Linked DNA regions of Homo sapiens: regions 1, 2, 3 and 5 are each linked to region 4. The links are contacts of gene promoters, found by promoter capture Hi-C in blood cells and fetal thymus (Javierre and others, 2016). All regions are on one chromosome and are shown on one strand. The core of a region is centred on a gene start or on the middle of the fragment in contact, and the rest is flanking DNA. Distances in the headings are between cores, read along the strand shown. Region 1 holds the start of ZNF784 (zinc finger protein 784). Region 2 holds the start of PPP1R12C (protein phosphatase 1 regulatory subunit 12C). Region 3 holds the start of ZNF628 (zinc finger protein 628). Region 4 holds the start of VRK3 (VRK serine/threonine kinase 3). Region 5 holds the start of ZNF865 (zinc finger protein 865).

Region 1 (5,429 bases), core at 391-2,890, 5.6 Mb after region 4:
CAGCACATTGGGAGGCTGAGGTAGGCAGATCACCTGAGGTCAGGAGTTCGAAACCAGCCTGGCCAACATGGCAAATACCGTTTCTACTAAAAATGCAAAAATTAGCCAGGTGTTGTGGCTGCTGCCTGTAATCCCAGCTACTCGGGAGACTAAGACACGAGAATCGCTTGAACCCAGGAGGTGGAGGTTGCAGTGAGATGTGATCATGCCACTGCCCTCCAGCTCAGGCGACAGAACAAGACTCCATCTTAGACAGCAAAACAAACAAAAATTATTATTATTATTTTTAATGTAGAGGGAGTCCCACTATGTTGCCCAGGCTGGTCTCCAACTACTGGGCTCAAGAGATCCTTCTGGCTCTGCCTCCTAAAGTGCTGGGATTGCAGGCGTGAGCCGCCGCGCCCGGCCCATCCTCCAGGATTCTGTTGTATCCTCATCAACATTTCCTCTCCTGTCCAAAATATATCATGGATCCCACCTTTTGTCCTCCACCCTAGTTAAAGCCCCATCACTTGGCGCCTCCAAAATTGAAAAACCCAAGGGCATCTCTGTTCCTATTTCTGCTGGCTTGTAACCCACCTCCCAGGAATAGCCTGAAGGTCTTTTGAAAATGTAAATCAGATCAAGTCATTTTTCGCACTCAAAACCCTCCAGTGGCTCCAAATGACTTATCCCAAATCGTCACTATAATATCTGTGGCGATGTAGCTCCACTTATCTCTCTGACCCCAGCTTAAACATAAGCCGGCACCCAGCTGACTTCTCTCGTCTAAATTTAGCTGCCCCACCCCTACTCTTGGCTCAATTTATAGAAATTGGCTCAATTTTTATTTCCTTTATAGAACATATCACAGTAACTCTCCTTTATTGTCTCTCTCCTCTCAAGAGACTGCAGGCTCCAAAAGAACACAACCCTTGTCTGTCTTGGTCACTTCTCTATTTACAGAGCCGAAGTAGGAGCTCAGTAAATGTTTGTTGAATGAATGAATGTCCTCAATTAGTCTAATTCTGAGTGGGGTAACGTGGAGGAAGTTCCAAAGTCACCTAGACCACCCACTTCTACCCCCAAATTCTCCCTTGGGCATTCGAGAAGCATCACTAAGACCCTTGAAGAATTATCCCCTACCCCGACATAGGTGCTCCAATCATAATCCCCCACGTTTTTCAGGGTCACCTTCCCAACCTTCTACCCTAGAATTAGCCCTAGAATTTATGAGGCCCCGCCCCTTACAAGGCTCCACCCAAATTATGCAAATTATCCCTGGTAAGCCCCCTTCCCTGGACCCAAACCCGTCCCACAAGACAACACCGTCCTCAGACTCCGCCCCCATCCAGGCCCCGCCCACCACCCATAGGTCCCTCCCCCACCCCGCCCACCATGACATAGTCTCCTCCCCTGCCCCGCCCCTCGCGAAACCACAAGAAGCCCCACCCCCAGGGCCATAGCACTAAATACCTCCCTCGCCCACCCCCTCATAGGCCACGCCCCGGACCCGCCCCCCACACTACGACCTCCTCCCACCTCGAGCCCCACGCCCAGGCCCCTTCCTTGCCCGCACCAGGTCCAGTGGCTCCTGGGATCGCGACTCCGGAGTCGGTGAGCTCCGACTCTGGGCCTCTGGGCGCGCAGCGGCCATCTTGTGCCCAAGCCCCGCCCCCAAGGCCAATGTTCGCTCTGAAAGGGGGTGGGGCTCGAACTGGCGTAAGAGCTACTGCGCAGGCGCAGTGCGGGGCTGCGAGGGGGCGTGGTGCAGCAGGGGGCGTGGCGGGGCGGGGCGTGGCGGCTGAGCCCGGGAGAATGTGAGTTGTTCCCTCTCTAATTACCTGTCTGTCCCTCCGAGGGTACGCTCTGTGTGGCGCTAGGATGCCTGTAACACCCTGGGAACAAATCCGAACGTTCCTTCTAAACCAACGCAGGCCGACTCGAGGCTCTGGCTGTCAGGGGAACCTCAGCAGAACTGAAGAAGCTTTGCTTTGTTTCCACGGTAAACGTTTTTGTGATTACCTCTGCACTGCTCATGACAACGTAATGACGCCAAGTTTATAAACGTCGGTGTAGGCCGGGTGCGGTGGCTCATGCCTGTATTCTCAGCTACTCGGGAGGCTGAGGTGGGAGGATCGCTTGAGGCCGGGAGGTCGAGGCTGCAGTGAGCCATGATCTCGCCACTGCATGCAGCCTGAGTGACAGAGACTCTGTCAAAAAAAAAAAAAAAAAAGGCAGTGTGGAGAAAAATATTCAGTAAACAGCAACACAGGTGGTCCTGGGAGGACGCAAAAACCCGCAAGCTGATGTTATGTTTGGGAGGAAAGAGCTCAAAAACGCGGGGTTTTCAGCAGCATCAAGGACGGGGCTCTTCTTAGCTGCCCCGTTTAGTCATTCTGGTGGTATCACCTTGGATAAGTCACTACACTTCTCTGGACCATTTCTCTTTCTTTTGTGTAGCACTGTAGAAGCATTGTGACAAACCACTGAGAAGAGACATGGAAGAGTTTGGAAACATCTTTAAATAGTTTTCTTGAAAGGGCAGGATAGGAGATACTTAAACATGATCCTAAGCATGATCATTTCATTCATAAATATATATGAAATTATATTTTGTGATATGTTGGTATAAAATAAAGATAAACACCACTTAGGCTGAATTATCTCCTCCTCCTCCTTTCTTCTTCTTTTATAGAGATGGGGATCTTGCTGTCTTGCCTTGCCCAGGCTGGTCTTGAACTCCTAGCCTTAAGCGATCCTTCTGCCTTGGTCTTCCAAAGCTATATTTCCCTTCTTTTCTTTTGATTTTAAAATAATTTTTTTTTTTTTGAGATGGAGTCTCACTCTGTCGCCCAGGCTGGAGTGCAGTGGCATGATCATGGCTCACTGCAACCTCTGCCTCCCGGGCTCAAGCGATTCTCCTGCCTCAGCCTCTTGAGTAGCTGGGATTACAGGTGCCCGCCACCATGCCCGGCTAATTTTTGTATTTTTAGTATATACAGGGTCTCACCATGTTGGCCAGGCTGGTCTCGAACTCCTGACCTCAGGTGATCCGCCCACCTCGGCCTCCCAAAGTGCTGGGATTACAGGTGTGAGCCACTGCGCCCGGCCTAAAATAAATTTTTAAATGTTGTGGGTCCCTAAGAGTATCATGGGCCCTAGGCACTGTATCTACTACTGTGTCTAATGCTTAAGTCAGCTCTTTCTGTCCAGGTTTCCTAATTTGCAAAATGAGGGTGATAATAAAACCTACTTTACACAGTTGCTATGATGATTAAAGAAGTCATTATATATAAAGTATTTTGGACAATGTATGGCACACAGCAGGTGCTATGAGTTAGCTATAATAATTACTACCATTTGGCACTCCCACTAGCAATAAATAGGGACCTTTGTTGCTTAACATTCCTATCAATATCTGATACTCAAACTTTAAAATGTTCGCTAATCTCTTGGGTGTGAAATAATTTCATTTCTTTTCTTTTTTTTGAGAAACAGCCCAGGCTGGAGTGCAGTGGCGTGATCTCAGCTCACTGCAACCTCCACCTCCTTGGTTCAAACAAATTTCCTGCCTCAGCTTCCCAAGTAGCTGGGACTACAGGTGTGACACGTCATTACGTTATCGCAAGTGGTGCAGAGGTAACCACAAAAACCTTTACTGTGGAAACAAAGCAAAGCCTCTTCAGTTCCGCTGAGGTCTTCCACTGACTGCTAGAGCCTCGAGTCGGCCTGCGTTGGTTTAGAAGGAACGTTCGGATTTGTTCCCAGGGTGTTACAGCCCAGCTGATTTTTGTATTTTTGTTTTGTTTTGTTTTTTGTTTTTAGTAGAGACAGGGTTTCACCATATGTTGGCCAGGCAGGTCTCAAACTCCTGACCTCAGCTGATCGGCCCGCCTCGGCCTCCCAAAGTGCTGGGATTACAGGCATGAGCCACTGCGCCTGGTCTATTTCTTATTGAGAAGCTCTTTATTAAAAGAGATCATTCATAGCACCCAGAACTCATCCTCCAGTTTCCCTTTTTTGAGAGCTGGAAGTATGTCATCTCTGTATCCCCTCTGTACATCCCTATAGAGAAGGCATGTATATGGCTCAGTGAGTGTTTGGTGAATGAATGAGTGAGAAATTGAATTCATGCAGATAGAAGAACTTTGTACCAGAGCTTAAGGCTATTGAGTATTTTTTCCCTTTTTTTTCCTCCCCACCCCCACTAAAGCTATTAAATATTTGCAGAGGAGAGCACTGTTTAGTGGAATTACCATAAGCTTTCAAATCAGGCAAACCTGGGTCCAGATCCGTTTATCTGCTTGCTGTGCAACTCTGGGCAAGCAATGTCTCCTCTAAGTGTCTAGCTGACATCTACAAAGTGGGCACCATAATGTCATTTGGCAGGGTTGTAGTTAGAATGCCACTGATTGAGAATGCCAAAGGTCTGTGTGATGCCTGGAACCAACTGGTGCTCAATAAATGTGGGTTCTGCCTGGGCTTGGTATTCTCTACTAAGAATACAAAAATTAACATGCACAGTGGAGCACGCCTGTAGTCCCAGGAACTTGGGGAGCTGAGGCAGGAGGATTGCTTGAGCTTGGGAAGTTGAGGCTGCAGTGAGCCAAGATCACACCACTGCACTCTGGCCTGGGTGATAAAGTGAGACCCTGTCTCAACAAATAAATAAACATAAAATAAAATAAATATAAAATTTTAAAATTTAAAAATGAATCTGGGTTCCTTGCCTTTTCACCTGTTGTCTGGCTTCTGAGTCCCTCGGTACCTGGCATAACACTAACAGGCTATTGCATGACTTGAGGCTAGAAGCCCTGCTACACGGAGCCATTAGACAATTGCAAGAAGATTTTAGCCGGGCGTGGTGGTGGGCGCCTGTAATCCCAGCTACTCGGGAGGATGAGGCAGGAGAATTGCTTGAACTGGAGAGGCGGAGGTTGCGGTGAGCCAAGATTGCACCACTGCACTCCAGCCTGGGAGACAGAGCAAGACTCCATCTTAAAATAAAAAAATAAAAAAATAAAAGAAAATGCCAGGAAGAGTCTTGGACTTGGAATCAGATTTGCCTCGCTTCTCTCCATCTCTATCTTCCTGTAAAACCTGAGCACTTCACTTCTCCTCACGGAGCCTAGATTTCCTGCCTTTTAAAAGAAATTGGCTGATAGAATTAGCTAGATGGCTCTGCAGTTCCTCTCCCTTTCATTTTTCTATGTGCCCAAGAAAACTGAAAATATACATTCACACAGAAACTTGTAAACAAATGCTATTCATAACAGCCAAAAAGCAGAAACAGCCCAGATGTCCATAAACATAAACAACATGTGGTATATCCATAGAGTGGAATATTATTTGGCCATAAATGAATAAAATACTGATCCACATGACAACATGGATGAACCTTTAAAGCATTATGCTAACTTAGAGGCTGGGAAGGGTGTGTGGTGGAA
Region 2 (5,859 bases), core at 1,243-3,742, 5.1 Mb after region 4:
ATGGAGAAAGAGAAAGGGAGTAGAGGCGGCCACGACCTGGTGAACACCTAGGACGCACCATTCTCACAAAGGGAGTTTTCCACACGGACACCCCCCTCCTCACCACAGCCCTGCCAGGACGGGGCTGGCTACTGGCCTTATCTCACAGGTAAAACTGACGCACGGAGGAACAATATAAATTGGGGACTAGAAAGGTGAAGAGCCAAAGTTAGAACTCAGGACCAACTTATTCTGATTTTGTTTTTCCAAACTGCTTCTCCTCTTGGGAAGTGTAAGGAAGCTGCAGCACCAGGATCAGTGAAACGCACCAGACGGCCGCGTCAGAGCAGCTCAGGTTCTGGGAGAGGGTAGCGCAGGGTGGCCACTGAGAACCGGGCAGGTCACGCATCCCCCCCTTCCCTCCCACCCCCTGCCAAGCTCTCCCTCCCAGGATCCTCTCTGGCTCCATCGTAAGCAAACCTTAGAGGTTCTGGCAAGGAGAGAGATGGCTCCAGGAAATGGGGGTGTGTCACCAGATAAGGAATCTGCCTAACAGGAGGTGGGGGTTAGACCCAATATCAGGAGACTAGGAAGGAGGAGGCCTAAGGATGGGGCTTTTCTGTCACCAATCCTGTCCCTAGTGGCCCCACTGTGGGGTGGAGGGGACAGATAAAAGTACCCAGAACCAGAGCCACATTAACCGGCCCTGGGAATATAAGGTGGTCCCAGCTCGGGGACACAGGATCCCTGGAGGCAGCAAACATGCTGTCCTGAAGTGGACATAGGGGCCCGGGTTGGAGGAAGAAGACTAGCTGAGCTCTCGGACCCCTGGAAGATGCCATGACAGGGGGCTGGAAGAGCTAGCACAGACTAGAGAGGTAAGGGGGGTAGGGGAGCTGCCCAAATGAAAGGAGTGAGAGGTGACCCGAATCCACAGGAGAACGGGGTGTCCAGGCAAAGAAAGCAAGAGGATGGAGAGGTGGCTAAAGCCAGGGAGACGGGGTACTTTGGGGTTGTCCAGAAAAACGGTGATGATGCAGGCCTACAAGAAGGGGAGGCGGGACGCAAGGGAGACATCCGTCGGAGAAGGCCATCCTAAGAAACGAGAGATGGCACAGGCCCCAGAAGGAGAAGGAAAAGGGAACCCAGCGAGTGAAGACGGCATGGGGTTGGGTGAGGGAGGAGAGATGCCCGGAGAGGACCCAGACACGGGGAGGATCCGCTCAGAGGACATCACGTGGTGCAGCGCCGAGAAGGAAGTGCTCCGGAAAGAGCATCCTTGGGCAGCAACACAGCAGAGAGCAAGGGGAAGAGGGAGTGGAGGAAGACGGAACCTGAAGGAGGCGGCAGGGAAGGATCTGGGCCAGCCGTAGAGGTGACCCAGGCCACAAGCTGCAGACAGAAAGCGGCACAGGCCCAGGGGAGAGAATGCAGGTCAGAGAAAGCAGGACCTGCCTGGGAAGGGGAAACAGTGGGCCAGAGGCGGCGCAGAAGCCAGTAGAGCTCAAAGTGGTCCGGACTCAGGAGAGAGACGGCAGCGTTAGAGGGCAGAGTTCCGGCGGCACAGCAAGGGCACTCGGGGGCGAGAGGAGGGCAGCGCAAAGTGACAATGGCCAGGGCCAGGCAGATAGACCAGACTGAGCTATGGGAGCTGGCTCAGGTTCAGGAGAGGGCAGGGCAGGGAAGGAGACAAAGTCCAGGACCGGCTGGAGGGGCTCAACATCGGAAGAGGGGAAGTCGAGGGAGGGATGGTAAGGAGGACTGCATGGGTCAGCACAGGCTGCCAAAGCCAGGGCCAGTTAAAGCGACTCCAATGCGGAAGAGAGTAGGTCGAAGGGGAATGGTAAGGAGGCCTGGGGCAGAGTGGTCAGCACAGAGTGGCTAAGCCCAGGGCCAGTTGAAGCGGCTCCAATTCGGAAGTGGGGTGGTCGAAGGGGAATGGTAAGGGGGACTGGGACGGGGTGTCAGCATAGGGTGGCAAAGCCCAGGGCCAGGAACGACGGGGCGGATCGAGACTGGCAACGGGGAAGGAGGATGCCCCAGGTGGCGCAGCAGAGGGTGGACCTGGCCCCGGGAGACGCCGGGCGGGGGGCGCTGACCTGGTGCAGGGCGCTGATACCGTCGGCGTTGGTGGAGTCCAGCACGGCGCGGGCGGGCGGCGGCGCGGCGGGGTCGAGCTCGGCGCCGGGGCCAGGGTCGGCGGCGCGCAGCATCAGACGCGCCTCGTCCAGGTCGCCGCCCGCACAGGCCGCCAGGAACTCGGCGGCGCGCTCGAAGCGGACGGTGCGGGCGCGGCGCTCTCCGGGGCCAGGCTCGGCGCCCGCCCGCGCCCCCCACTGCCGCAGCTGCTCCCGTCGCCGCTCCCGGGCAGCCGCCGCCGCCGCCCCCGGGCCAGCCGCCGGGCCATCCTCTCCGGACATCGCACCGCCCGCCCGCCCAGCGAGCGAGCGAGCGCCGAGCCCCAACCGCCGCCACCACCCGCCCGCCCGCCCGCCCCGGGGGCCGCCGGGAACTGCCGCTGGCCCCCCACCGCCCCAAGGATCTCCCGGTCCCCGCCCGGCGTGCTGACGTCACGGCGCTGCCCCAGGGTGTGCTGGGCAGGTCGCGGGGAGCGCTGGGAAATGGAGTCCATTAGCAGAAGTGGCCCTTGGCCACTTCCAGGAGTCGCTGTGCCCCGATGCACACTGGGAAGTCCGCAGCTCCGAGGCGCCCAGTGGAAATCGCCAGATGAGGGCCTCCTCCGGGGAATGCTGGGAAATGGAGTCTACAGGCCGGAGGGGTGCCCCACGGCATACTAGGAAGTGTGTAGCACCGGGTAAAGGGGATGAATAGCAGACTGCCCCGGGGCAGTTAGGAATTCGACTGGACAGCCGCGTGGGAGGGAGTGCGGGGAGAGGCAGAGTTGTTTTGTTATTGTTGTTTTATTTTGTTTTCTTTGTTTTGAGACGGAGTCTCGCTCTGTCGCCACGCTGGAGTTCAGTGGCGCGATATCGGCTCGCTGCAACCTCCGCTTCCCAGGTTCAAGCAATTCTGGCTCAGTCCCCAGAGTAGCTGGGATAACAGGCGCGCGCCACCCCGCCCTGCTAATTTTTATATTTTTAGTAGAGACGGGATTTCACCATGTTGGCCATGATGGTCTTGATCTCTTGACCTCATGATCCGCCCGCCTCGGCCTGTAATCCTGCTGGGATGACGAGCGTAAGCCACCATGCCCAGCTGGGTTTTATTTATTTTGGTTTTTTTCCTGACCCCTTAACTAGAAATAAGCTCCACGAGAGCGGGATCTTTTGTCTTCTGTGCACTACTTGTCCTCGGTTCTTAGAACAGAACCTGAGAGAACCTGATCGCAAATATTTTTGGAATGAATGAATGAATGGGTTCACCAGGGCACCATGGGAAACTGAGTCCGCAACCTAGAAGCCATGAAAGACAGTCCACTTCCAAGCTTCCCTGGGTGACCTCGCAGGGCATGCTGGGAAATGAAATTTGCGGTGAAAAGGTCAGGACCACGATCCTAGGGCACGCTGGGAAATGTAGCCCACAGGGCCACACCCCTAAAAGCACAGTGGGGTGCAAGGCAGGGCCCCAAGGCATTTAGGGCTCGGGGCAAGAGAAATCCACACTCCACTCCCTAATGGTAATCCCTGAGCCACACCGAGTAAAGGAACCCAAGACACAGTGTCCACAGGGACAGGGCTCTCAGAGCTTTCACTGGCCCGCGCTTCTCCTGCGCCCACCCGGACCTCCTGGGAACCGCCCAGGCCCTCGCGCGCTCTCAAGGCATGCTGGGATTGGTGGTCCCGGGCAAGGAGTTCCAGCAGGTGGGGGGCGAATCACCTTTCAGCGGGCCCAAGCGATGAGCACACCTTGATCTTCACCTTACGGATCCCGCGCCCAACTCAAGATTGGGAAGGTGGCTGGCACTTTGTGACAGGAAGAGTCCCATAAAAATCATACAGAAAAGGGCCAAAATCGGGACAGAGACTACAGACTGTTTCCCAAGCGCTGTGGGAGTTTCCCACCCACTCTGAAGTCCTTGGGTTTGCGCGGAGACGTAAACTGCGCATCCCACGAGGCCTGTTTCTTTCCCTCTCTCTTTCTCTTTTGTTGTTGTTGTTGCTGCTGCTGTTACGAAAATTTTTGTGGTTTTATTGTATCATGAGGCATTGAAACATCCGGCGACTCAATGTCTAGGCGGTGAGGCAGCCGCTTTCTCCTTCACTTTCTTTGGGTTAAGTAGAGCAACTTGTCAGTAGTTTTGTTTTTTTTTGTTGTTGTTGTTGTTTTTGAGACGGAGGCTTGCTCTGTCGCCCAGGCTGGAGTGCAGTGGCGCGATGTCGGCTCACTGCAAGCTCTGCCTCCCGGGTTCAAGCGATTCTCCTGCCTCAGCCTCCTGAGTAGCTGGGACTACAGGCGTGCTCCACCACGCCCGGCTAATTTTTGTTTTTTAGTAGAGACGGGGTTTCACCATGTTGGCCAGGCTGGTCTCGAATTCCTGACCTCGTGATCCGACTGCCTCGGCCTCCCAAAATGCTGGGATTACAGGCGTGAGCCGCCGCGACCGGCCAGATTTTTTTTTTTTTTAAAGGACAACCTTTTGCATTACTTAAGTCTTTCCAAGGCATGCGCTGGTACAACACAAACTTTTCCCATTACATGCAGCTAGTCTAGTGTCCAGACGTCATGCACAACACCTCCGTGGCATCAGCGCACTGCGCCCACTCCCACTGCGACCCTGCTCATTTGTGCATCATATCTGGAGGAGTGGCAATAGTTCTGGAAAGAGGAGGGAAGAGGAGGCAGCGTGAGGGCCCGGTGGAGAGGAGGTCAGCTGAAGTTGTGCAGAGCAAGCCTGCATATCATTGGTGCAAACCCAAGCATCATTGCATCGCTGATGTTTTGTTTTGTTTGGTTTTGTTTTGTTTTTGAGACGGAGTCTCACTGTGTCGCCCAGGCTGGAGTGCAGTGATGTGATCTCGGCTCACTGCAACCTCCGCCTCCCAGGTTCAAGTGATTCTCCTACCTCAGCCTCCCAAGTAGCTGGGATTACAGGCGTGCTCCACGCCTGGCTAATTTTTGTATTTTTAGTAGAGACAAGGTTTCACCATGTTGGCCAGGCTGGTCTCGATCTCCTGACCTCAAGTGATCCACCCGCCTCAGCTTCCCAAAGTGCTGGGATTACAGGCATGAGCCACCACACCCAGCTGATGTTCTTTAGTAGGAATATCTGGTGGAACCCCAAGATGGGGTCTTCATCCGCCACGAAGCCTGTTTCTATAGAAAGGGATAGTTCTGGTGGCTCTTAGGTGTGGTCCCTGAACCCCACACTTTCCACATACTTACACACCAACCTCCTTCCCCCAGGAAAACAAGAAGTCGGTCTTCAGGGTGTTACCGTGTAGCTCTGGTTCTGTATGTATTCTGTGCCTTTATGTATAATTGTGTGTATTTGCAATCATGTCTGTGGCTGGATGTATGTTGTTTATGAGTTTGTGTTTATGGTTTGTTTTTGTTTGTTTGTTTGTTTGTTTTGAGATGGAGTTTCACTCTTGTCATCGCCCAGGCTGGATTGCACTGGCGCAATCAAAAAAGAGTAAAATAACAGAAATCAGAATGGGCTTATAATACTCTTACCCCTCTCCACACAGGACAGAAGAGTCAATTTTATACTTTTGTGGATGTTCTAACTTCACCTGCTTATCTGAACCATCTTTATGGTGCAGACTAATATCTATTTTTCTGCTGTTACAGAAGAAGTGGGAACATTTTCTTCTTATCTTTCTGAGGTTATTTACACCAGTGAGGAGGGCCTGCAGTTCCAAGGTTAAGCACCAACATTCCACTGTTACCATTGAGAGCAAAGAGCAGACCCTAGAAGTG
Region 3 (5,740 bases), core at 356-2,855, 5.5 Mb after region 4:
CACCCTGCATGGCAGCCGCTTTGTGTGGTTAATGCTGACGTGAAAGGAATGTTGGGCTGAGCTGGATGCCAAGGGTTTTTACACGCACGAATGCACGGAGACATCAGCACCAAGACCCTGTAAGGTAGGGGTGGGTCCACACCACCGCAGATCAGCCCTGAGTTCCAGCCTGCTTGTGGACTTGGGAAACGGTGTGGGAGGCTGGAAAAATCCACTCATTCAACAAACAAGTACCGTCTGCTTCTCCATCAGGGCCCATGCTGGTTGTTTGGAATACCTGGGCAGCAAAGACACGAAAGGTCCTCGCTGTCATGGGACATAGATAAATGTCGCTGAGCATGTAAGAGGGACACCACCTAGCACAGGAGGCTTTCCAGTGGGATCTTGCTGGGCAGGGATGGGTTAAGGGTAGAAGGGCCTTCTGGCCTGAGAAACAGCATGCAGAATGGTCTTCAAGCTGAGGGTACTGCCTTTGAGCAGTGGCTCTCAACTAGTGAACATGTGGCAATGTCTGGAGATATTCTTTTTGTTGTTGTTGTTTTTTTTTTTTAACACAGAGTCTCACTCTGTCACCCTGGCTGGAGTGCAGTGGCACGATCTTGGCTCACTGCAACCTCCGACTCCTGGGCTCAAGCGATCCTCTTGCCTCAGCCTCCTGAGTAGCTGGGGTTACAGGTGCCTGCCACCATGCCCGGCTAATTTTTGTATTTTTAGTAGAGACGGGGTTTCACCATGTTGGCCAGGCTGGTCTTGAACTCTTGACCTCAAGTGATCTGCCTGCCTCAGCCTCCCAAAGTGCTGGGATTACAGGTGTGAGCCACCGCGAAAATCTCTATCTGGAGATATTCTGAGCTCTCCTACGGGGTGTGTGGAGCGGGGCTGGGGATGCTACCTGCATCTAGTGAGTGGGGGCCCTAGAGTGTGTAGGACAGTCCCCGCTGCAATGAATCCATCCCAAATGGCACTAGTGCTCTGGTTGAGAAACTGCGTTTAATGACCCTCAGAAAAGCCAGTGTGGCTGGAACGCTGGGTTGGGCGGGGGTTGAGCGTGGAGAGGGGCTTTGGAGCAGCTCGGTCTCCCACTAAAACCCTAGGCCCCACAAGGAGTCTGTGGATTCCAGCCTCCCAGAACAGACCTTTGCCCAGCAGGAACCAGGTTTCTGCAGCGTCTGGATGAGCGTGCACGAAGCACACGCCCGAAAATCCTGAGCACGTGGCTCTACCGAGGGACTGGAAGCGCTCCAGGCCTCGTTTTCCCGCTGGAGCGATTACACCCTGGGGGCGGGGCCCGCTTCACGGGAGGGATTTTTGTACAACCGTGGTGCATGGAAGGATTTTTTTGCAGATGAGAGGGAATCGGGATTAATAAGGGGAACTTGCGACCCCGCGTCTCGAGCTGGCCGTCCCTGGCCTTGGGCTCACCGGGGCCTCGGCCCCCAAGACCTGACAACTGGAGTCCGCGACCACAACTGGGAGAACTACAACTCCCAGGATGCCGCGCACCGCCTGCGCCCGAGCTCGACGAGGCCTCGCACAGCCAATGGGAGGGTCCGGGGGCGGGAACTCGGAGTACGTGCGTTGTGACGCACCGACGGCGACGTCGGGGTTTGTGTGCGCGAGAGGCCGCCGATAAAGGTTGGGTGCCTCGCGCCGGGGGCCGTTGGGAGGGAGTGCGCCCCTGCCCCCCCTCCCCGGTCCCCACAGCTGCACCGCCGCTGCCGGGGCCCCACCTTCCCGTCGACCCCCGCGGGAAGGTCCTGGGGCTGCCACCCTCGTTCCCCCGATTGGGGCCGCAGGTGAGAGACCGGAGGGGGTGGGGGTGGGGGGAGGGACCGGAGGGCGGAGAAGTTGCAGGGGGTGGGGCGGGGGGGGGGGCGTGAAACCGGAAGGGGTACCTTAAAGGGGAGTCACTATTTCACCTCCGACATTTGCCAGCTAGGCCGGGTCCGCCCTCTTAAAGGGCAAGGGGCCACATTGAGAGGGCGGGTCAGGCTTTGCATTTTTACAGAAGCTTTCTGACTTAAAACAATGTTTTTCCCCTAAAAGGCGGTTATCTCATTAAAGGCCAGTGACCGTTTCCCAGACATTGAAGCAAAAACTCCTGAGTCCTGGTTGCTTCAAAGCGATCCCTGGTTTAGCTCAACAAAAGTGGAGATGGGGCTCCAGTGGCAGCATCCCCTTAAAGGGGAGGTCCAGCCTGCTGAACGGGTGTGGCGCGGCCTTTTAAAGGGGATGTCTTCTTGTTAAATGGGACCCCGCTCTTTCAGGGCACGGATATCTCTTTTAAGGAGATGCTGGGGCTTCTCAAAGGCACGTGCAGCTTCTTAGCATCAGTAGGTTTGTTTTTTTTTTTTTTTTTTTTTTCTGGAGACGGAGTCTTGCTCCGTTGCCCAGGCTGGAGTGCAGTGGCGCGATCTAACCTGCTTACATATTAAAGGGTACACTTATCTTTTAAAAAGGAAGTTCTTGGCTAGGCGCGGTGGCTCACGCCTGTAATCCCAGCACTTTGGGAGGCCGAGGCGGGCGGATCACTTGAGGCCAGGAGTTCAAGACCAGCCCAGGCAATATGGTGAAACCCCGTCTCTACTAAAAATACAAAAATTAGCCGGGCGCGGTGGCGTGCACCTGTAATCCCAGCTACTCGGGAGGCTGAGGCAGGAGAATCGCTTGAAGCCGGGAGGCGAAGGTTGCAGTGAGCCGAGATCGCGCCACTGCACTCCAGCCTCGGTGACAGAGTGAGACCCTGTCTCCAAAAAAAAACAAAAAAAACACACAAGTTCTTGTAGCTTGTCCGACGGGGATGCCTAGCCTTCATTCATTTAAAATTTGTTTACTGCGCACACACTCTGCCAGACATTATTGTAGGCACTGGGATGGCATACAACAGTGAACCAGACAGAAGCCCCTATTTTCCCGGCGTTGACATTCTAGCATGGGGAGGCAGAATAAAACAGAAAGCACACTGGTTATATAGTAGCGGTTCTCATCTGGGGGCAACGGTGCTCCCCAGGGGCGACACTGCGGCTAAGACTCGGAGGTGCAGGAGTGAGCTTTGTGGACAGCGTAGAGGAGGGCTTCATAGGCCAATGTCAGGCGTCCAGTGGGTCGAGGCCGGGGGCCAGGGCTGCTGCTCGACACCCTGCAGTGCACAGGACAGCCCTCAACAGAGAATGGTCTGGCCCCACATCTCAGCACTGCTGAGGCTGAGAATCCTGGTACATTAGAAGGTGATAATTGCTGCGGGGGAAAAATAAGGCAGGAAAAGGGAATGGGGAGTTGGAAGGGATTGTAGATTTAAATAGGGCTGTCAGGGAAGCTCTTGCAGAGGGGATTTCAGCGAAGACTCGGAGGTGAAAGAGCGAGTGGCGGGCACAGGTGGAAAGGAAGGGGGTGGTTCTAGGCAGGTGCCCTGAGGTGGGAGCAGGCGTGCCTGGCCATCCTGGGTGACCAGAGTGACCAGGGGCAGGTGGCCAGTGAGGATAGCAGTAGGACAAGTCAGGGAGGGGACAGGCTGCAGGAAGTCGGCAGGCTCGAAGACCAGAACTGTGGCAGATTTCTGAGTACAGGAATGCAATGCCCAGCCCTCCCTGTTGACGGGTTCGCTTCAGTTGCTGTATTGGGAACAGACGGGTGGGCAGGGCACGGGTGGAAACACGGCGATCCGTGGGGAGGCTGTTGCAGCTGCCTGGGAGAGAGACAGTGGTGCCTCAGATCAAGGTGGAGGCCTGTGAGAAGTGGCCAGATCTTGGATATGTTCCGCCTGGAAGGGGAATCTGCGGACAGGGGCAATCGAGAGAGAGGAGGCGAGGAGCCTTTGGCCTGAGGAAGAAGACGGCTGCCATTTTCAGAGATGGAGAAGCTATGGGTGGAGTAGAAGTTGGGGGCGAGGAGCAGAAGACCATAGTTAGATTTTGGGCATGTTAAGTTGGAGGTGTCTAATGAGGCATCCAGGTGGAACAGTCTAGCAGGTGGTGTGGCATTCAGAGGGTAGGTCTTATAGAGCTGGAGGCCTGGAGTCATTGTTCATAGACAGTGGAGTCCTGAGAGTGGGTGGGGGCTCCCAGGGAGAGAGGACAGACAGAGGACAAAGTGGTGCCGGAGCCCCGGGCGCTCCCACATCTAGAGGTCAGGGAGGTGAGAAGGAACCAAGCTGGGGACTGAGATGGGGTGACAGGTGACGGAGGGCAGTGAGGGAGCGAGGTATCCCGGAGGCCAGGGGGAGGCGGGCCACGGACCCAGTGACAAGTGGGCCATTGCGGGCCACGCGCCGCCCAGGCCATGGAGTGGGGGCACCCGCGTGGGACTGAAGGGGTTTGCGCTGGGAAAGAGCGGGCTGACACTTGAGCTGCTCTGCTGTGAAGGAATGGAGAAACGAGTCTGCAGCTGGACAGGGAAGTGGAGTGAAGAGCTTTTTGGTTTTTAAAGATGGGAGACATAGATTGTTGGTTCTGCAGATGGGAACGTCCAGGAGAGGAGGAAAAGTGGAGGATGTGGGTGGGAAGGCACAGTCCACGGGCACTGGGTCAGGCCTGTGGGGAAGGATTGCGCAGGGTTTCTGGACCTCGCACTGCTGACATTGTGGATGGGATTGTTCTCCGCTGTGGGGCCGTCCTGTGAATTGTAGGATGTTGGGCAGCATCCCTGGCCTCCACCCACTAGATGCCAGGAGCACTTGCCTCTCTAGTTAACAGATAACCCCAAATGCCTCCAGGCATTGCGGGATGTCCCCTGGGTTGAAGGCACAGTTTGTCCCAGTTGAGAACCACTAGTATCGTGGTCAGAATGTGAGAAACTTCGCGTCTGATTGCTTTTATTTTCACAGAGGCATGATCAAGGACAGGGTTGCCTGCCAAGAACAGGAGGGGAGAGGAGGGGCTGGAGGTTTCAGGAGAAAGAAGCATGTCAGGTAGTCACCTGGGGAGTGCATGGGCCAGAGACATGTAGTGTGAGCCAGGGAGGGTGATGGTGAGGGGGCCGCAGATTTTGTGGGCTTGAAGGGAAAGTGAGACTGAGGCCAGGCAAGGGGGTGCCTGTCATGGCCACCTGCAGCGTTTGTGCAGGGTCGGGCAGGAGTGAGGATGTGGGTTGGCTGGAGGTGAAAGGGCGCGCTGGATGGTAGATGGGCTGGAGTCTAAGGATTTGGGGAGTTGGAGCACCAAGCTAGAGTGACCTAGAAGGCTTTGTGGTGTTGGGAAGTAGGTTGTTCCAGGCTCAACCATGAGGACACTTTTTTTTTCCTTTTTTTTTTTTTTGAGATGGAGTCTCTCTCTATGGCCCAGGCTGGAGTACAGTGGTGTGATCTCGGCTTACTGCAACCTCCACCTCCCAGGCTCAAGTGATTCTCCTGCCTCAGCCTCCCAAGTAGCTGGGATTACAGGTGCCTGCCACCACGTCCAGCTAATTATTTATTTATTTAATTATTTTTTGAGATGGAGTTTCACTCTTGTCACCCAGGCTGGAGTGCAGTGGCACGATCTTGGCTCACTGAAACCTCCACCTCCTGTGTTCAAGCAATTCTCCCGCCTCAGCCTCCTGAGTAGCTGGGATTACAGGCGCCCACCACCATGCCGGGCTAATTTTTGTATTTTTAATAGAGACAGGGTTTGACCATGTTGGCCAGGCTGGTTTCAAATTCCTGATCGCAGGTGATCTGCCTGCCTCAGCCTCTCAAAGTGCTGGGATTACAGGCGTGAGCCACAGTGCCTGGCCCCATGAGGAGGCTTTAGTTAAAATGAAAAGG
Region 4 (5,731 bases), core at 1,766-4,265:
CTCCCTTGTGCTACTGCAGCAGCCTCCTAACTAGACTTTCGGCTTCTACGCTTGTCCCTACAATCTATTTTCAACCCAGTAGCTTGACGGATCCACTTAAAATCTAAGTCAGACCCTGTCTGTGTCCCTGCCCTGGCCCATATGGTGGGTCGGACACGGTGGCTCACGCCTGTGATCCCAGCACTTTGGGAGGCCGAGGTGGGCGGATCACGTGAGGTTAGGAGTTCCAGACCAGCCTGGACAACATGGTGAAACCCCGTCTCTACTAAAAAAGTACAAAAAAAAAAATCAGCCGGGCGTGGTGGTGGGCACCCGTAATCCCAGCTACTTGGGAGGCTGAGGCGCAAGAGTCGCTTGAACCTGGGAGGCAGAGGTTGCAATGAGCCAAGATTGCACCGCTGCACTCCAGCCTGGGCAACAGAGCAAGACTCAGTCTCATAAATAAACAAATAAATAAATAAAATGTAAGTCAGACCCTGTCCCTCCTCTACTCAAAACCGTATGGTGGATTTCATTTTAGACAGAATAAATGCTGAAATTCCTACCATGGCCCAGGAGCCCCCTGTATGATCTGCCACTTCCCTGTTCCCTCTCTGACCTCTCCCACCTCTCCCCTTGCTCACGCTGAGTCAGCCACAACAGCTTCGGTGCTTTTCCCCAATCGTGACAAGAACGTTTCTTCCCCAAGACCTTTGCACCTGCTCTCCCATCTGCCTGGAACGCTGTCCCCCTAAGAGTGCACACAGTTAACTTCCTCATCACATTCTTTAGCTCTCTGTTCAAATGTCACCTTCTCAGAGACCTTCTTGGACACGATTTTACTGTGTTTTTTCTTTTCTTTTTTTTGAGATGGAGTTTGGCTCTTTTCGCCCAGGCTGGAGTGCAATGGCACGATCTCGGCTTACTGCAAACTCTGCCTCCCGAGTTCAAGTGATTCTCCTGCCTCAGCCTCCCATGTAGTTGGGATTACAGATGCGTGTCACCACGCCTGGCTAATTTTATATTTTTAGTAGAGATGGGGTTTCACCATGTTGGCCAGGCTGGTCTTAAACTCCTGACCTCAGGTGATCCCCCTCAGCCTCCCAAAGTCCTGGGATTACAGGCTCGAGCCACCGTGCCTGGCCCTGGACACCATTTTACTAATAGCATGTTTTATCCTCCTTACCTTGCTTTATTTTTCTTCACAGTGCTTGTCACTACCTGACATACTCTGACTTACTAGAATGTAAGCTTCATGATGGCGGGGACTTTTCCCTGCCTTGTTTGCCACAGTGTGCCCAGAGCCTCAAACAGGCCTGGCACAGAGCAAATGCTGGGTCTACGTCTGCTGAGTGAATAAATCATTGTCTCCTTTGCAAAAGAAAATGTGCCAAGAAGGTGGGTGGGGGGGGTCCCCAGCTGTGTCAGTACACATTCATCTCTCAGGCAAATCTAGACATCCAGCCAGAGACTCAAAGCTCAGGGCCGGAATTATCTAGCTGGATGGTCCCTAAAAAAGACGTGCCACTTAGAAGCAGATCAGTACAGGGGTTAAGAGGATAAACTTGGGAAATAATCTGCCTGGGTTTGGATCTTGCTTCTGCCATGTATTGCATGATGGACAGAGTTTTGCTATGTCACCCAGGTTGGAGAGCAGTGGCACGACCTCAGCTCACTTGCAACCTCCGCTTCCTGGGTTCAAGCGATTCTCCCTGCCTCAACCTCCCGAGTAGCTGGGATTACAGGCGCATGCCACCATGCCCGGCTAATTTTTTTATTTTTAGTAGAGATGGGGTTTCACCATGTTGGCCAGGCTGGTCTCGAACTCCTGAACCCAGGTGATCCGCCCACCTCGGTCTCCTAAAGTGCTGGGACTACAGGCGGGAGCCACCGTGCCCAGCCAAATTTTTTGGATTTTAGAACCTATTACATATTACAACACCGGCGAGATCCAGGGGCAACTCTCCATAAGTATATGATTTGCACAACAAAATCTTTAAAAATTCTAAATAGTCACACATCAGTTCAGAGTGGGTATTGCCAGCAAACAAGTTCAAAGCCAGGTGAGGTTGGCCTGCCAAGTAAGTTGCAAAACAGAGAAAAAGACCTTTCAGTTTTCAGAACGTTTTGGATTTTAAAGTTATAGATAAGGGACTGCAGACCTGTAAATATTCTTTAACATTTCTTTTTTAGTGTCTGGCATCCCCAACCACCCTGAGAATGTGAATTAGCTGGGCAGGATTTTTGTTTTAGACACTGCTATAATAACCTGGGCTTGAACAGTGCCTATTAGACTAGCACCGTTCAAACCCAGGTTATAGTAGTGTAATATCGGTTGCACGGAGCCTTCCATATAGTAAACGCTCAATAAAATTGGATGTGCTGAAGTCACCTATGCAATGGCCAGGTCAGGACTTGAAACCCTAAGACTCCAACCCTCAGGCCAGTCTTTATCTTAATTTATTTGACTTATTCAACAAATGTTTAGGGAACAGCTGCTATGCGTCAACTACTGTATAGTGTTCCTCCTAGAAAGTTCAGGAAACAGCACAGCAAAAAGGCTAAAAGTCAGACCCCACCTCAGCGCAGGTGGGGCGATTGCCTAGGCGACGACAGAGCCTCCCTTCGGCCGCACCTCCATAGAAACCACGGGATGACTTAGACGCCAAGTTTCACAGCGGAGGAGCTGTCGAACTTCCCACAAGTTCCGCCCATCTCCGCCTTAGCCATGCCCAACACGGAGCCCAAGGTGGCTTGGGAAGCTCAAGAGGAGGCCAGTGAACCCCGCGACCCGGAGCCGCTCTCATTCCGAACCCCGACAGCAGGGGCCTCCGCCTCCCACAAACGGTCGTGCTGACGTCACGGACGCCCCGGCCGAGCTGCGGCTAGGGGGTCGGGGGACGTCCCCTCGTTCGCCTCGCTTCCCCTCACCTCTGTACTTGGGGACTGGGGTGGGATTCTGGGCTTCTGCAGCCTGACCCTCGGATCCTCCGCAGTTACCCGGACTCACCTTCTCAGTTGCCCAGCGAAAACTTCCGCTGGGCGGAGAGCGCTGCGCGCGCATCCTGAATCTGAGGCGCCCGCGCAGGCGCCGCTGACTTCCTGACGGCCCCTGGGCTTCGCCTGCCTGGGAACTCCGTTTCCCAGATGCCTCCGCGGCAGGCCCGCCCTCTGATTCCAGACGGAATGGGGATTATTCCCTCATTGCTCATCCCCCTCCCCTCCGTTCTAGCCGCTTTGGAACGCCTTCTGGTTCTACTGCGCATGTGTCAGTGTCAGACCAATCGGAATGCACCGTGAGGTACCTCTCCACCAATCAGAGGTCACATTACCTAAACTTCTGCCTCAACTCCGCCCCTTACTTCCGCTTGTTTTCTCAGAAACCCGTCACAACGCGTTTCCATGGCAACCTACCGCTTGCTCTTCGGAAAAGGTTAACACTCCCTGACTTCTAGTAAAGGCAAGAAGCTAATTAGATGATTCTTTAACAAGGTAAAAATCTGGACTACAAACTGATGCCGCCTGGTCCTGATTCTCTTTCTACTCTACTCCCACAGTGCTAAGGCTGAAGAAGCAGGAGGAGATGGGAAGGCGAAAGAAGTCGCCCGCACAGCCCTCTGGGAAATAGAGTCCTGGCGCTGCCGCGGAGGATCCTGGGTGCAGCCGCTCAGAGAAGCTTCTCGCGCACAGGAAGTCGCTGCGAGGAGGCGCGTGTGCGGGGAGTTGAATCTCCCGCTCCCTTGAGGCTGGGGTTGCGTCTGTTGACGCGGCCGACTACAATCCCGAGGTACGGAGACGCTGGGGCTGAGGGACTTGCGGGCTCGGTCCTTCCTGAGAGGTGACGGAATGCAAGTGGGGGCGACTTCGGCAAAGGGTGCGTCGCCTTGGGCGGCGGTTGTCAGGGTGAAGGTGTGAACCGTCTTTCACAGTCTGTTATGAAAACCGCTCAAGGTCTGGGCACGGTAGATCACGCCTGTAATCCCAGCACTTTGGGAAGCCTTGGCGGGGGGGATCACTTACAGCCAGGAGTTCCTCGAACCCCCAGTCTCTACTAAAAATACAAAAATTAGTTGAGCGTGGTGGCGGGGGCCTGTAATCCCAGCTACTCAGGAGGCTGAGGCAGGAGAATCGCTTGAACCCAGGAGCTGGAGGTTGCAGTGAGCCGAGATCGCGCCATTGCACTCCAGCCTGGGTGACAGAGCGAGACTACATCTTAAAAAAAAAAAAAAAAAAAGAAAGGAAGAAAACCACCTTGGGAGGCTGAGGTGGGCGGATCGCTTGAGCCCAGGATTTCGAGGCTAGCCTGGGCCAGATGGTGAAGCCCTGTCTCCACAAAAGAAGAAAAAAATAGAAAAATTAGCCGGGCGTGGTGGTGCGCCCCTGTATTCCTAGCTAATTGGGAGGCCGAGGTGGGAGGATTGCTTGAACCCAGGAGGCAGAGGTTGCAGTGAGCTGAGAAAGAAAAGAAAAGAAAAGAAAACTGCTAAAGGGGTTTCCAGGCCTCCCTGATGGCCCTGAGAGGAGTGGTTCTGTTTTATTTTGGTTTTGGTTGGGGAAGGAGGGGAATGAGTTACCTGAAGTTGGCAAATTTAGGCAGAATCTTGCTGGACGATGGATGGGAGTTCTTCGGGAAGTTGAAGTACTTAACATTTACAGTATTTGAGTGCTTTCTGTGTGCCAGGCGCCCTGCTGGAGTTGCATTTCCTCTTCTGATCCCCGCAGCAGCACTGAGACATAAGTGCAGGTCCCCTTGGCACCAAGGCAATCTCGGGAATCAGAATTTTTCAGATTTTAGAAAGCTAATAGGGTGCATATTTTATAATTAGGCAGCACCCCCCCACACCCCGAGGAATCTGGGCCAGTTTTTGGTCATAAAATGTTTCTGTGGGGCAAGGTGTGAATATTCACACTTATGAGAACATTAAGACCCTACATGGCCTGTGGCAATCCAGGTGAAGTTTTGCGGTCAGTTTATAAATCAAGTTCTGGTTTTTGGAGCATTTAAAGGACCATAGATCTGTTGTATTTGTTCCATTTGGTACATGTGGAAACTAAGGCTTAGAGAAGGTAAATGGTCTGGAAGGAAGGGCAAGACTCTTGGGCCCAAGGTCTCTCAGCCTGATAATTGTTTGGCTTAAGTCACTCTGGGCTGGATGACCTTGGGCTCCACCTCTGGGCCCTCGTTTCTTTCCTCCCAGAGCTGAGAGTATATGAGATGTGGGCAGAATGTGATTTGGTAACTGCAGACAGGGATCTCAAGCTCAGCTGTCTGTGAGGGCCAGGCAGATGACATACAGGAAAGAAGAGAACTGGTCCAGGTGAGGCTGCGGGGCCTTGGGGAGCACTTGCCTCATCTGAAGGGGAGAATTGTGTTTTTTTTTTGATGACAGAGTCTCGCTCTGTCACCCAGGCTGGAGTTCGGTCTCACTGGAACCTCCACCTCCCCGGTTGAAGCGATTCTCCTGCCTCAGCCTCCCAAGCAGCTGGAATTACAGGCGTGCACCACCATGCCTGGCTAATTTCTGTATTTTTGGTAGATACGGGGGTTTCACCATGTTGATCAGGCTGGTCTTGGACTCCAAACTTCAGGTGATCCGCCTGCCTTGGCCTCCCAAAGTGCTGGGATGGCAGGCATGAGCCACTGCACCCAGCCGCTTTTTAAACTTAAATTTAATTTTTTTGGCCGGGTGTGGTGGCTCATGCCTGTAATCCCAGCACTTTGGAAGGCCGAGGTGGGTGGATCACGAGGTCA
Region 5 (5,761 bases), core at 42-2,541, 5.6 Mb after region 4:
GTGGTTCAGGGCCGAGGGCCGGGGGCCGGGGCTTAAAGGAGAAACTCTGAGGGAACAGGGTATTGGAGGTGGGACTTAGAAGGTGCTGATGGGGGCGCACGACTGCTATGGAGGCGATGGGGAGAGAAGGAAGTACTTAATCTAAGGGAAGTTCCTGGGAGAGTGGAAGCTTAGCAGGAGGGGCTGAATGGGTCTGGGTTTGGCTGTTTGGGATGGGGCTGAGTTGGGAGCCGGGATTATAGCGATTATATGAGCGGGCAGTGTCAAGTGTGGTAAATCCATGGCTCTTGACCAGCATGCAGCAGAATCAGAGTATTTCAAAACACGGATCCCTAGACCCCCAACCCCAGGGCTTCTATTCCGCATGGTCTGAGCAGGCAGCCGGATGCTGCTGGCCTCCCAACTATCCTTGACAACCACCGATTTAAAAGAATGCTTTAGAGGTGGGAGGCACTCAAAAGTCACGAGGTGCAACTTAAATGCTATGGGGTGAAGGGGCGGGGCTTGGATGGAGGGGGCGGGGCCTAGGGAGGGGTGAAGTTCCAGAGAGTGGGAGCTTGGAGAGGGGGAAGAACAGGAGAAACTGCATGAGGGCGAGGGGACGAAGACAGACTTTGAGGCAGTAGGGGGCTTATAATCACGCTGTGAGATGGGCGTGGTTCAGGGCCAGGGGGCGGGGCTTCAGTGTGAGACCCGAGCCGGAGGTGTGGCTTAACCGGACGCCCAGAGCGTGTCGCGGGGTTCCCGTAGAAGAGGCGGGCATTCAAAGCGCAGGCGCACCTGGCTCAGTTCGCCCACCGGAATCGGCCCGGGCTTTCACTGCTCGCGTCCCCGAGTCAGTGCGCAAGCGCATTTCCCCCCTCCTGGTCCCCGCCACCGCCTCCTCTTTCCGATCCTCCACGCCGGCGCCTCGGGAACGGGCGCGACTTCCGCTTCCGGGCGGGCGGGCAGGCGGGCGGTGCGGGGCTGCCGGGGAGGGGGGAGGGGGCGGCACTTCCGGTCGGGCCCTCGGGTCTCCCCGGAGCGGCGGCGCCTCCTCCGCCTCCTCGGCCTCCTCCCGGCGGAGACCCCGGCGCCGGTGAGTGACGGGGTGCGTGGCCCGGGGGCCCGGGTGCAGCGGGGGCGGGGGGCCCCGCCCTGGCCCGCTGTGGTCCCCAGAACGTCCCCCAACCCCTAGCAAGTCAGTGCAGCTCCCGCCGGGCCCTTGCCAAGGGACCCCCAATCACTGCTCCCCGGTAGGATCACTGCAGATAGCTCCCCCATGAACGCCCCCAGCTAGGATGGCTGCCAAAGCGCTTTCATTCGTGGCGATCCCCTAAACGGCTGCCAGGGCCCCCAAATGATACCTCCTCGTAGGATCCCCTCCACATAGCGCTCCCCGTCATTGCTTCCTCCAGGTCAGCCTCCAGATGCCATCAGCATTGCCCCTCCCCATGTAGGGCAGCTGCTCGTGAACCCTCTTATTAGTATCCTCTATATAATTCTCCCCAGAGTGTTTCCTTAGTGCCTTGCAGCAGAACTGTCCCCCGTTATCTCTGTCCATACAGCAACAGCCCCCAATGGCCCTGACCACCTCCCTCCCCAGCAGAACGCCCCTTCGTGGGTGTGAAAATACTTTCTATTCTGGTCAGCACCAAGAATGCCTTTTTCCCTTCTGCAGGTCCTCCAGTGATTCCCCTTAAGAATGCCCCTTTCAAAGCCACCCCCCCATCGCAGCGGCACAGCTCCCTCTAGAGTTCCTTCACACTCACATCCTCTCCCGCCTCAGGTAGAAATATCCGCCTGCTTAGCTCCAGGCTCCCATGACATACTCCCGTACCTCCTCTCACCCCACCCTCATCGCGGTCAGCCCGTCTTCATTACTTCTGCCACAGAACAGTGTCCCGCAGTGAGGCGGTGAAGCCTTCCTTCCCAGAATGTGCCTCATCCTCTTCCTATGGCGTGAACAACTGTTGCCCTGACCTGCAGCTTCTCACCCAGCTCTCAGGCTATCGTCCTGGACTCCCTAGGGAAGACCCTGGACTTCACTAGGGTGTGACTTCTTTTCTCGTAGGCATTCCTTCTGCGTTGAACGCATATTCACTATTCTAGCTGAAGGGTATAATATACAGCCACGAAGGGGGTCGATACACACAGTGTTCTCACTGTGCGGGGTCTCACAGTCTAGTTGATCAGACACGAGTCGACAAAGATACACGGGGTTTTGTGGGTTCTCTGAGAGCCTGATGAACTACTTTAGAGGTGAAAGCTGAATTACAAGTGGCAGCTTAGCCATGCAAAGATCTGGGTGAGCAGGCAGCAAGAACAACAAGTGCAAAGGCCCTGAAGTGGCGGTGAGCACGGTGAGTGGAGGAGCAGCAGGGGAGGCCGGTGAGGGTGGAGTGGAAGATTTGAAGGCAAGAACAAGAGGAAGGAAGCTTTGGTCTCAAAAGGCTTTGGAGGTGAGGGCACTGGGATAAATTATCTAGCCTTTGTCAGCTCTACCGAGCCCAGAATGTTCTTCATTCATTCATACGTTCATTCGTAAACACTGGTTGAACAACTGTTTAATGAGCACCTACTTTACATTGGGGGTACAACAGAGAACAAAATAGACAAGAATCCCTGTCCTCATGGAGTGGATATGCTAGTTGAGGGGGCAGATGATTAAAAGACAAAATACAGGCCAGGCGAGGTGGCTCATGCCTGTAATCCCAGCAGTTGGGAAGGCCAAAGTGGGAGGATCGCTGGAGGCCAGGAGTTCAAGACCAACCTCGGCAACATAGTGAGACCCTGTCTTTACAGGAAAAAAAAAAAAAAAAAAAAAAAGCTGGGTGTGGTTGGTGGGCACCTGTAGTCCCCAGCTATTCAGGAGGCTGAGGTGGGAGGGCTGCTTGAGCCCAGGAGTTCGAGGCTGCAGTGAAAAAAAATAAAAACAAAAACCAAGAGTATATGTGCGTGTTCAGAATATCACGGGATAAAGAGATAGACCTGGGGGGCTGTGGTTCAGGATGGCCTCCCCCAGGATTTTCCTATGTCTTGTCATCTTGTCCCTCCCAAAAGCCACACACCAAAAAGTTATACAAGAGTAAAAATTCCCCTTCTCCTGGACAACTGTGGCCCACTTGGGGGCTGCTCTTAACAGCGCCCTAACCCCAGGAGCGAAGTGATTGGGAGGATGAGCCCTGGATTCCACTAGGGTTCACAGCTTTGAGCAAATCACTCCCTCCTTTCCTAGCCTCATTCATTCACTTCTTCAAACAAAAATGTATCAAGCCAGGAACTGTTGTAGGTCCTGGGGATGGAACAGTGAGCAAGAGATAAAAATCCTTGCCTTCAGGAAGCCGATCATCTGGATGGGGAGACCAACAAAATCAAGGCAAAGAAGTAGATTATGTGAGGTTATAAATGATGCTGAGCAGTAAGGAGAGAAATGAAGCAGGGTTAGGGAGATGAGGATGTGGGCCTGGGTGACAGGTCATTGGTTACTGAGAGGCTCATTGAGAAGACAGTTGACCAAAGATGGGGAGGAGGTGAAGGGGTGAGCGAGATGGTTGCCTGAGAGTCAGAATATTACAGGCAACAGCAACAGCCAGCGCAAAGGCCCTGCAGCAGGAATAGAGTGGGCACATGGGAAGAGCAGCCAGGAGACTGTGGAGGTCATTGTAAGGACTGTGGCTTTTTTTTTTTTTTTTTTTGAAAAGGAGTTTCGCTCTTGTTGCCCAGGCTGGAGTGCAGTGGTGTGATCTTAGCTCGCTGCAACCTCCGCCTCCCGGGTTCAAGTGATTCTCCTGCCTCAGCCTCCCGAGTAGCTGGGATTACAGGCATGTGCCACCACGCCCAGCTAATTTTGTATTTTTAGTAGAGATGGGGTTTCTCCATGTTGGTCAGGCTGGTCTCAAACTCCCGACCTCAGGTGATCCGCCTGCCTTGGCCTCCAAAAATGCTGGGATTACAGGCGTGAGCCACCGTGCCCAGTCAGGACTGTGGCTTTTGAATGAGATGGGGTTACTGTTTGGTTTGGGACCGAGGATAGACATGCTTTGGTTATAGTCCTCCTGTCAGTAAAATGGGAATAATAATAACACATTTGTTGTGAAGTTTGAATGAAACAAGCCACATAAGGCACCTAAGTACAATGCTTGTTAGAGGTCAACAAATGTTGGTGACTTGTTCTGGTCTTGGGTCAAGCCAAGAGACTTGGGATTTGTTGGCAGGGAGATGGGTGGAGCAATGCATGTTTCCAGTATGAAGTGGGATTGGGGGCGGGGGTCCTCCTTCATTTTGGAGGGAGAAATACCGAAAGACAGCATGTGATGGGACTCTGGAGCCTTGCTGCCTTTCTTCAACCACTGGCCCTGCCACTAGTTAACAATGTGACTTTAGAAGTTTGTTTGTTTGTTTTTGAGAAACAGAGTCTCACTCTGTCACCCAGGCTGGAGTGCAGTGGCGTGAGCTCACTGCAACCTCTGTGTCCTGGGTTCAAGCAATTATCCTGCCTCAGCTTCCCCACTAGCTGGAACTACAGGTGTGCACCACCACACCCGGCTAATTTTTTTATTTTTAGTAGAGACGGGGTTTCACTATATATTGGCCAGGCTAGTCTCGAACTCCTGACTATAGTTGATCCACCCACCTCGGCCTCCCAAAGTGCTGGCATTACAGGCATGAGCCACCATGCCTGGCCTGACTTTGGAAGTTTAATTTATCTCTCTGGCCCTCAGTCTCTTCCTTTGTATTTCAGAGTCAATGCTTGTAACCATCTTCTAGGGTTACTGGGAGGATTCGTTGAGCTCACACACATCAGAGTTACAAGAGTGCTGGGCTGGTAGAAAGCACACATCCAGTGTTATATGCGCACGTTACTCTTTATTAACAAACCAGAATTTCATCACAAGGCAGCGTTGTTGCAGCAGAACGGCCCACAGTCTGGCATCAGAAAGACCTGGAATCAGTTACCTGCTTTCCTCTTTATTGGCCACATGACCTTGGAGGAATGCCTTCCCCATGCTGCTCCTCAGTTTCCCCACTTATAAGATGGGCCCAGTCATGGTACAGGACTGTGCTGCCTCCAGGCAATAACAAATATCAAACTGGTCAAACAATAAATGTGAACCGTTAATACACTTGCTGTGGGACTCCTGTCCCTTGGTGGTGGTGGTGGAGGGGTGGGTCCCTCCCCATCATGCTTCTCTCTGCATAAAACCCTCCTATGACATCCCCTCTTAAAAAGATACCAGTTTAGGCTTGAGTTGTATGAAAGAGGGAATGTTTCTGGTTTCCTAGTGGAGATTATCATAAGCCTGATCAATTCTGTCCACCACTGATGTATCCCCTTCAGCATCTCCACACCCTGCCCTCAGTGCCCTCCTCATAACATCACTGTCCCCAGAATTGCTTCTCCCAGGAATTCCTGGGATCATTTAGCTCCATTTCTGCTACATGTCCCCCTCCGTTCCTCTGGGAGTTTGATCAGCTTAGTCTCATCGCTTTGTTCATTCCACAAATACCAAGATAGACATTCACAGCTGTGCATTTCCCTCTGAGCATTGCTTTGGCTGCACCTCCTCAGCTTTGGTATGTTGTGTTTTCATTTTCATTAATTGCTAAGCAGTTTTTTTGCTTTTTGTTTGTTTGTGTTTTTGAGATGGAGTCGCGCTCTTGTTGCCCAGGCTGGAGTGCAGTGGCACGATCTCAGCTCACTGCAACCTCCACCTCCCGAGTTCAAGCGATTCTCCTGCCTCAGCCTCCCAAGTAGCTGGGATTACAGGCGCCCACCACC

What was found. The method cuts DNA at HindIII sites, captures the fragments that hold promoters and counts their contacts. A CHiCAGO score of 5 or more calls a contact.
Region 1: the fragment with the promoter of ZNF784 here is called in contact with the fragment with the promoter of VRK3 in region 4 in 4 of 17 cell types (total CD8 T cells, total CD4 T cells, naive CD4 T cells and 1 more); the score reaches 6.5 in total CD8 T cells.
Region 2: a contact is called between the fragment with the promoter of PPP1R12C here and the fragment with the promoter of VRK3 in region 4, in 2 of 17 cell types (naive CD4 T cells and total CD8 T cells). The highest score is 8.1, in naive CD4 T cells.
Region 3: a contact is called between the fragment with the promoter of ZNF628 here and the fragment with the promoter of VRK3 in region 4, in 5 of 17 cell types (naive CD8 T cells, non-activated CD4 T cells, total CD4 T cells and 2 more). The highest score is 8.2, in naive CD8 T cells.
Region 5: a fragment that was not itself captured here is called in contact with the fragment with the promoter of VRK3 in region 4 in 1 of 17 cell types (fetal thymus); the score reaches 8.1 in fetal thymus.

Annotation. Positions count from the first base shown.
Region 1 is chr19:55,622,926-55,628,354 of GRCh38, forward strand. It overlaps ZNF784 (zinc finger protein 784), which reads right to left and starts at 1,641. Exons shown (of 2, transcript NM_203374.2): 1 at 1,559-1,641. The coding sequence starts at 1,636. RefSeq lists enhancers at 1,622-2,121, 1,872-2,021 and silencers at 1,622-1,671, 1,742-1,801. The HindIII fragment of the contact is 2,172 bases long and covers 1-1,964 here.
Region 2 is chr19:55,115,145-55,121,003 of GRCh38, forward strand. PPP1R12C (protein phosphatase 1 regulatory subunit 12C) reads right to left here and starts at 2,493. Exons shown (of 22, transcript NM_017607.4): 1 at 2,079-2,493. The coding sequence starts at 2,399. RefSeq lists enhancers at 889-1,724, 1,079-1,128, 1,529-1,608, 2,569-2,848, 5,787-5,859 and silencers at 2,039-2,138, 2,159-2,238, 2,429-2,508. The HindIII fragment of the contact is 6,736 bases long and covers 1-3,422 here.
Region 3 is chr19:55,475,012-55,480,751 of GRCh38, forward strand. ZNF628 (zinc finger protein 628) reads left to right here and starts at 1,606. Exons shown (of 3, transcript NM_033113.3): 1 at 1,606-1,796; 2 at 4,823-4,906. The coding sequence starts at 4,900. RefSeq lists silencers at 1,672-1,871, 2,004-2,327. The HindIII fragment of the contact is 2,239 bases long and covers 1-2,009 here.
Region 4 is chr19:50,022,357-50,028,087 of GRCh38, forward strand. It overlaps VRK3 (VRK serine/threonine kinase 3), which reads right to left and starts at 3,016. Exons shown (of 15, transcript NM_016440.4): 1 at 2,911-3,016. It overlaps ZNF473 (zinc finger protein 473), which reads left to right and starts at 3,649. Exons shown (of 5, transcript NM_015428.4): 1 at 3,649-3,766. RefSeq lists enhancers at 2,322-2,823, 2,873-2,952, 3,293-3,342, 3,753-3,802. The HindIII fragment of the contact is 2,425 bases long and covers 1,229-3,653 here.
Region 5 is chr19:55,604,655-55,610,415 of GRCh38, forward strand. It overlaps ZNF865 (zinc finger protein 865), which reads left to right and starts at 993. Exons shown (of 2, transcript NM_001195605.2): 1 at 993-1,078. RefSeq lists enhancers at 1-166, 167-718 and a silencer at 762-1,261. The HindIII fragment of the contact is 2,248 bases long and covers 168-2,415 here.